Regions from separate parts of the Homo sapiens genome. Here region 2 is linked to region 1. The links are contacts of gene promoters, found by promoter capture Hi-C in blood cells and fetal thymus (Javierre and others, 2016). All regions are on one chromosome and are shown on one strand. The core of a region is centred on a gene start or on the middle of the fragment in contact, and the rest is flanking DNA. Distances in the headings are between cores, read along the strand shown.

The links. The method cuts DNA at HindIII sites, captures the fragments that hold promoters and counts their contacts. A CHiCAGO score of 5 or more calls a contact.
Region 2: a fragment that was not itself captured here is called in contact with the fragment with the promoter of AGK in region 1 in 10 of 17 cell types (total B cells, naive CD4 T cells, naive B cells and 7 more); the score reaches 15.3 in total B cells.

What each region holds. Positions count from the first base shown.
Region 1 is chr7:141,549,043-141,552,929 of GRCh38, reverse strand. It overlaps AGK (acylglycerol kinase), which reads right to left and starts at 1,520. Exons shown (of 16, transcript NM_018238.4): 1 at 1,496-1,520. AGK-DT (AGK divergent transcript) reads left to right here and starts at 1,586. Exons shown (of 6, transcript NR_183408.1): 1 at 1,586-1,786. RefSeq lists silencers at 1,276-1,455, 1,636-1,725. The HindIII fragment of the contact is 2,342 bases long and covers 818-3,159 here.
Region 2 is chr7:140,476,571-140,480,357 of GRCh38, reverse strand. It overlaps MKRN1 (makorin ring finger protein 1), which reads left to right and starts at 853. Exons shown (of 8, transcript NM_013446.4): 1 at 853-1,198. The coding sequence starts at 1,014. RefSeq lists enhancers at 1-416, 747-1,587 and silencers at 723-832, 1,123-1,262, 1,543-1,622. The HindIII fragment of the contact is 221 bases long and covers 2,152-2,372 here.

The sequences.
Region 1 (3,887 bases), core at 271-2,770:
GGGAGAATTAGGTTCATGGCTGAGACTGGAAAAAGGGGGTATGATCTAACAGTAATACGCTGGGGAGAATTTAGCAAGGCCTATTTGTTCTGATTCTTCTCTGTGTACCTGTGTCTTCAAAGATAAGGGCATTCCTTTCCTCGATCCTATACTTACAGGATGAGCACCTCTCACTGAAGGGTCTTATACAGAAGAAGGTCAAACAATTCTTTTATGGCCTGCTTCAGGGGAGAAAAGTGGGAAGACACAAAGTGACTTTCCTGCTTCAGTTGTTTCCTCTAATGCCAACGAGTCATATTTTGCGGCAGTGTGTCCTGAATCTCATCAACAGCGGAGTAAAAATTGGAGTGTCTAGAACAGGGGTTCTCAACCTTTAGTGCAGAACTTGTTAAAAACACAGAATCCTGGGAACTGCCCCTTCCCGCAAGAGTCTCATTTGTTCTGGAATTAAGCTGTCATCTTCACTTGTTAACAAGTACTCCCATGTTGGTTGCAATGGAGGTCACCACTATACCAGACTTTGAGAAACAGTGGTTTAGAGATAAAGGATTGAAGACCAGGTGGGATTAGAAAAGACCTTGAACCCACACTAAGGACTTTGGCTATTATTTTGAAGACAATGAAAAACCTTTAATGGGCTTTAAGCAGGTGAGTGATATAATCATATTTGAACTGTTAAAAGACCACTTTATAGCAGAATGAAAAATGAACTGGAAGAAGCTAAAATTAAAGCTAAAGAGAACCATTAGGAAGTTATTGCCATAATCTGTAGGCTCCTAAAAGAACAAACCAAGATAAAGGATGGATTTGGAAAGCTTTAGAAAGTAGAAATTGGCAGCAGTTGGTGGTCCATTGACTGTAGTAAGTGAGAGAGGAGGAACCAAGCCAGGTTTTTGTGCTTGGGTGACTGGTTGAATAGTGATTTCAGTCATTTAGATTTGAGTGGTAGGTTTGTGGAGAAAAGTAGTGCGGTTTAGGAGATACTGAATTTGACACGCCTGTGGAGTATCCAGGTGGAAATGTTTTTCTTACTAGATAGTGAACCCCTCATGGGCAAGTTCGTCTATCCATCTGCAGCACCAGAACCTAGTAAAGCGCCAGAATGAATGAACCAACCAACCCATCAATGGATCTGATACTATTGGCCCCATTTTGCAAAGGGCTATGCTGAAGCCCAAGGGACGAAGTGAGGGGGGTCCACAAGTTAGCGACAGCTCTGGGACTCGAACCCAGGACAGCTGACTCCCGCCGTGACCACGGGATCCGCGCGAGGCCCTCCCCTGCCGCGCCGGCCAGGCCCGCACCCCCTACCCTCAAGCCGCGCCGCCGCCTGCACCCACGACCCCTGATGCTTGGGTCCCCGCGGCTCTCGGCCCAGCGCGACTCCAGAGGCTCCGCCCAGCGCCCCGGGCCCCCATCCCGACTCCCACCCCGCTCGCGCGCTCAGTCCCAGCGACCCGCACTGCGCTCCCCGCCTGGGCGCCGCTGCACTCACCACGGCTGGTCCAGCTCGCGGCTCTGCCTTTCCTGTGTGCTCCCTCCAGATTCCCCGGCTCGTTCAAGGGAAACCGCTGCCGCCGCCCTCGGGTTCCGCCGCGGGGCTGCGAGCGCGCGCGGGCCAGTTCGGGCCGGGGGCGGGAACCGGCTCGGATGCTCAGGGACGGTGGGGGTGGCAGGGCCCACCGGCTTGAGGCTGCCTTTCCCGGCGTTCCCTCGTTTATTGGCTCACTCTTCCTTTCATCCATCCATCCTTTGCGCAACAATATTTGATGGGAAGCCTGCCAAGGTAACACTGTTTTAGCACCTGGAACTAAGTCGGAAAATAAATTAACTAAATGAACAAGGCCATTGGAGATGGTGCTCCGTGCCACGAAGAAAATGAAACGAGGTGATGGAAGGCAGTGCGGGAAGGGGGAGAACTGTGTGAAATTAGGCGGCCTGCGCTAGGCCTTCTGAGTAAGGGGCCATTGGTCTGAGACCTGGATGTCAAGAAGGAGCAGCTGAAGCAAAGATCCAGGGGAGAGAGCCTGGAGAGGGAAGGGCCCGTGCAAAAGCTGAAAAGCCTGGGGCACTCTGGCGAGTTGCAGGCCAGTGTGGGTGAGACAGAGAGAGCTAAGGAGACAGGCCAAGCGAGGAAGCTGGAGAGGTGGAGACAGGCCACGGCGGCCAGGAGTTTGGACATGACATTAAACAGGGCGAGAAGACATTGCGGGGGTGCAATCAGGGGCTGGTGGGACTGGTTTCCATTTCACACAGCTCTCTGGCCACAGGTGCTTGATTGGATTCTAGAGAACAAGAGAGCAACGGAGAAGCTAGGCCAATGCCAACCTCCAGACAGTTTACATTCTGTACTCGCCCACCAGATTGGTGTGGGGACAAAGCCAGGTCCTTCTTCTTTCCAGCATTCAGTCTGCCAACTTTTTTTTTTTTTTAGACAGGGTCTCACTCTGTGGCTCAGGCGCTAGTGCAGTGGTGCAATCTCAGCTCACTGCAGCCTCTGCTTCCCGGGTTCAAGCAATTCTTGTGCCTCAGCCTCCCGAGTAACTGGGATTACAGGTGTGTGCCACCAGGCCCAGCTAAATTTTTTTGTATTTTTAGTAAAGACGGGGGTTTTGTCACGTTGGCCAGGCTGGTCTCGAACTCCTGACCTCAAGCGATCTGCCCGCCTTGGCCTCCCAAAGTGCTACGATTATAGGCATGAGCCATCGCACCCGGCCAGTCAACCAACATTTGAGTGTGCACTAGGCCCTGCATCAGGCACTGGGGGTATGCTCAGGTACAAGGCCCTTCATGGTTCCTGCCCCATGGAGCTTGCTATCTAGTCTGCACATTTCCTACGTGTAGACATGCATCCTACCTATGTCTCCCTAGGTGAATGCTTCAAAAAAAAAAGGCCGGGGCGGGGACCTTCAATGAGGCTATGGTGCAGTAAACATATTCCTTATGCCAGGGTGCACCAATCCATTGGGCCACACTGTTTAGTAGCAAGAAATTTCTAGCCCTCTCTCCTGAGTCTCCATCTGTAAACTAGGGGACTGAGAACATTACTATTAAAAAAAAACCCTTCTAGCTCTAAAATGTTGTCATAGGGTATGGAAGACCATTATTTTCAGTTCCTCTTTTCCAACTATCTAAAGCGTTTGTGTTTGGAAATAAGCTTCTGAACTGCTCACCTGCAGGCTAGAAAAATCTGAGACTTGATTTTGATGTTCCAAGGGTCAGACTCAGCGTATGCTTTAGGGCTTCAGCATGAAAGTGGTTCCCCAAATAAGAAAAGGTCAGCTTTGATGAAGGATGAAGAAGGATGGAAATATAGGAGATTAAGGGAATCTGAATACACACCTGCAGGCAGATGTGTAGGTTGGAGTTTTGGAGACCTATACCAATTCTACTCTCTTCCAAATACCATTTTACTAGGATGCATTCAGATTCCAGAATAATCAGGCACAAGCTCTAGCCAGCCCTGAATGGGTTCCTGCAGCCCAACAGAAACCTGACACTCTGACTTAGGCAGCCCCAAGAACTTCTGTTAGGCTGGGCGCAGTGGCTCAAGCCTGTAATCCCAGCACTTTGGGAGGCCAAGATGGGTGGATTGCCTAAGGTCAGGAGTTTGAGACCAGCCTGGCCAATATGGTGAAACTGTCTCTACTAAAAGTACAAAAATTAGCCAAGCGTGGTGGCAGGTGTCTGTAATCCCAGCTACATGGGAGGCTGAGACAAGAGAATTGCTTGAACCTGGGAGGCGGAGGTTACAGTGAGCCGATATCGCGCCATTGCGCTCTAGCCTGGGCAAGAAGAGCAAAACTACCTCTCAAAAAACAAAACAAAACAAAACAAAACTCTTAGTCAAGGATTAACACAAGTTCCCTCTCATAGTCAAAGAGAGT
Region 2 (3,787 bases), core at 1,013-3,512, 1.1 Mb after region 1:
CTGGAGTGCAGTGGCGCGATCTCGGCTCACTGCAACCTCCGCCTCCCGGGTTCAAGGAATTCTCCTGCCTCAGCCTCCTGAGTAACTGGGACTAGCCACTACACCCGGCTAATTTTTGTATTTTTAGTAAAGACGGGGTTTCACCACGTTGGCCAGGCTGATCTCGAACTCATGACCTCAGGTGATTCGCCTACCTCAGCCTCCCAAAGTGCTGGGATTACAGGCGTGAGCCACCGCGCCTGGCCTATTATTATTATTATTGTCGTTTTTACAGAGGAGAAAGCAGGAGCACCAAGAGGTAGGATAATTTGCTAGAAGACCCATGGCTTAGAAAGGGAAGCCTGGAGATAAGGGGACCAGCCCTCTAGAGCATTGCTCAGCCAAAATACTTGGCCAAGATCACATCTCTGATACCAGGAATGAGATAACCTTTATTAAGTGTTTACCATGTACCAGGCACTAAGCTCAGTGATTTCTAAGGACATCATATAATCCTCACAGCAACCATATGTGGGTCTGCTGTCATCCTTATTCGAGAGAGGCTGAAACGGAGGCTCAGATAGAACAAGTACCTAGCTCAAATATTACTAGAGAAATGGGAAAGTGCAGATTCAAACCCAGGTCTTCCGACTGCAAGTCCCTAGTCCCCAGCCCCAGCTCCACTATATCAGCCTCTGCTAGGAAGAAAGCCGCTAACTATGGACTTTCGTCGCCGGGGTTTCGAGCCTAGGACACACCTGTACAGACCCCCGTTTGCCCCGCCCCTTTCCGGAGGAGACGTCCCCTCCACCAATGAGCGGCGCCGTGGGCGGGCCGCGGGCGCGCATGCTCTGGGCCCGCAGTTGAAGTGGCGAGAGCGCTCAGATACGCGACGCGTAGCAGGCGGGGACCGAACGGGTGCCTCAGTGTCCTTCCCCTCCCCTCGCCTGGCCTCGCCGTCCTCTCCCCGCAGCCGGACCGGAACTATGTGATCCCGGAAGTTCCGGGGCCTTTGCTGTGTGGGATAAACAGTAATGGCGGAGGCTGCAACTCCCGGAACAACAGCCACAACATCAGGAGCAGGAGCGGCAGCGGCGACGGCGGCAGCAGCCTCCCCCACCCCGATCCCCACAGTCACCGCCCCGTCCCTGGGGGCGGGCGGAGGGGGCGGCGGCAGCGACGGCAGCGGCGGCGGCTGGACTAAACAGGTCACCTGCAGGTAGGACGTTGCGCGGCGGAGCGCCGGGCGCGGGGAGGGGGCCGCGGGCCAAGCCTGCGGCGCGGGAGGGAGGAGGGCGGCCGGCCTGCGGCTAGAGGCGCGGGAGGGCGGGGACCGGCGTTGTCTCGATCTCTGCAGCCCTCGCGGCCCCCGCTGCCGCCGCGTTCCCCCAGTCACTGCGTCAACCCCCGCTGGGCCGCGGAGCCCTCAGCGCTGTCCGCGGAGGCCTGGCGGTGCGCGATTACTGCGGAGCCGCGGGGCTGCACCGCCGCTTACACTTCCCTGAGCGCTGCCTGAGCTGGCTGCGAGCGCATCGGGGAGAGGTGGGCTGGCTCCTCCCCTGCCGCTGGAAGGATGCCCCCGCCGCTGCCTCCGGCTCCCGGGGCTCGGGAGGTGGTCACTTGAGGCCGGTCTCCCAGCGATCCTCTCCGGGCCTAGACACCCCGCCGAGGGCCCCAGCGAGCTTGCCTGGCTCCCGGCCCTCTCCTCTCTCCGTGCCATCCGTTTGTAACGTCTTTTCACGTCCCTCCGTCCCTCCGCCCCCCATCCTCCGCCCAACTGTGAGAAGAAGCTTTTGTATTTCTTCTTTGTATGTTTGTCGAGGTTGGCGGTGCTGAGCTTTGTCTTAGAAGCAGGCGTTCGGGGGCCGGGGTCGTCTTCTCCACCCGCGGTTTTTTTGAGCTGCAGATTATTACCCTCCCCCAGCGCTATGTTCCTCTTTTGAAATTTACGCATCTTCCGAAGGGAGTGAAAGGGCTCTTCGCTCCCGGAAGAGAGAGAGGTTTGGTTTTGGTTTGATATGCGAGACGAAAATATTAGAAAAATTAAGGGATGGCGGTTGTATGGATGTGTATGGTTGTAAAAAACTACCTAGCTCTACGCAGAAGAGGGCATTTAATTGTACGTTTTTTATTTTCCGGTTTTTAAATAGTGATCAGTAGCGACTGTAAGCTTTTCTTTTTCTATCAGTTGAATAAATCAACTGAAATGCCGGTTTTCACCTGGGTGGTATAATTTATATGCAAGTATGTAAAAATGATTCCTAATTAGAACTTGTAGTATTAAGGGTGAAATTTGAAACCTTCCCAGTCTTTGATGTGATACATTTATCCTGGCGACCTTCGAAGGTCTCTCAGCCTTTGATATGATACATTTAAGGTGTGAAGGATAAGCTTAATTATTTTACATAATGGGATGTAGAAAGCATAAACGCAATTTCAGGTCACTTGTCTTATTCATCGGTGGATTGTAAAAGTGGAATATTGCCAGGAATGATGATTTTAAAGTTTCTACTCATGGAGCAAATTATTTGAATATCTGTTTCCCTTTTACAATGCTACAGTTGATCTATATGTGCTAGTTACATCTTTTAAAAGATTGAAACCGGCCTGTCGGGGTGGCTAGGTCGGCGTGGTGGCTCACGCCTGTAATCCCAGCATTTTGGGAGGCTGAGGCGGGCGGATCGCCTGAGGTAAGGAGTTCGAGACCAGCCTGGCCAACATGGTGAAACCCTGTCTCTACTAAGAATACAAAAATTAGGCCGGGCACAGTGGCTCACACCTGTAATCCCAGCACTTTGGGAGGCCAAGGCAGGTGGATCACGAGGTCAGGAGCTCAAGACCAGCCTGGCCAAGATGGTGAAACCCCGTCTCTACTGAAAATACAAAAAACATTAGCCGGGCGTGGTGACAGGCGCTTGTAATCTCAGCTACTCCGGAGGCTGAGGCAGGGAGTTGCTTGAACCCAGGAGGCAGAGGTTGCGGTGAGCCAATATCACACCACTTCACTCCAGCCTGGGCGAAAGTGAAACTCTGTCAGAAGAAAAACAAAAAAGAAAAAGAAAGAAAAGAAAGAGCTTAGATTTACTAGTTTTTGGGGGTTTTTTGTATAGCTTTTGCTTGAGACAGTTTTTTATTGTTGTGCAGATTCCTTGATAGGTCTGGGGTTTTAGTGTTTGACATTGTTTTCGGTTGTTCTAGGTACCAACATGATCTCTTACTTAAAACTATTTTCTCCTTTAGATAGAGGAATGTCAACTATCATTTTTTTTTTTTTTTTTTTGAGACAGAGTTTCCCTCTTGTTTCCCAGGTTGGAGTGCAATGGTGTGATCTCTACTTACCACAACCCCCGCCTCCCAGGTTTAATTGATTCTCCTGCCTCAGTCTCTGGCATTACAGATGCCTTAGTAGCTGGGATTACAGGCGTGCACCACCATGCCCACCTGACTAATTTTGTATTTTTAGTAGAGACGGGCTTTCTCCGTGTTGGTCAGGCTGGTCTTGAACTCCCGACCTCAGGTGATCTGCCGGCCTCAGCCTCCCAAAGTGCTGGGATTAGAGGCGTGAGCCACCGCACCCGGTCTATGATCCTTATCGTTCACTTTGAGCTCTCTGAGAAGAGTAGGGCCCTATTTTATCTGCAGGGCTTTCTTTCCTCAGTTCCTCAGTTTCTTTCCTCAGTTCCAGTATCATGAACAGGATACTCAGTTACTGAGTATCCTGAGCAGATACTGAGTAAATGCTTGAGTGATGTTGATAAAGTCATATACCTAGAATTACCCACTTTAACAGGAACTTTGTAAGATTCCT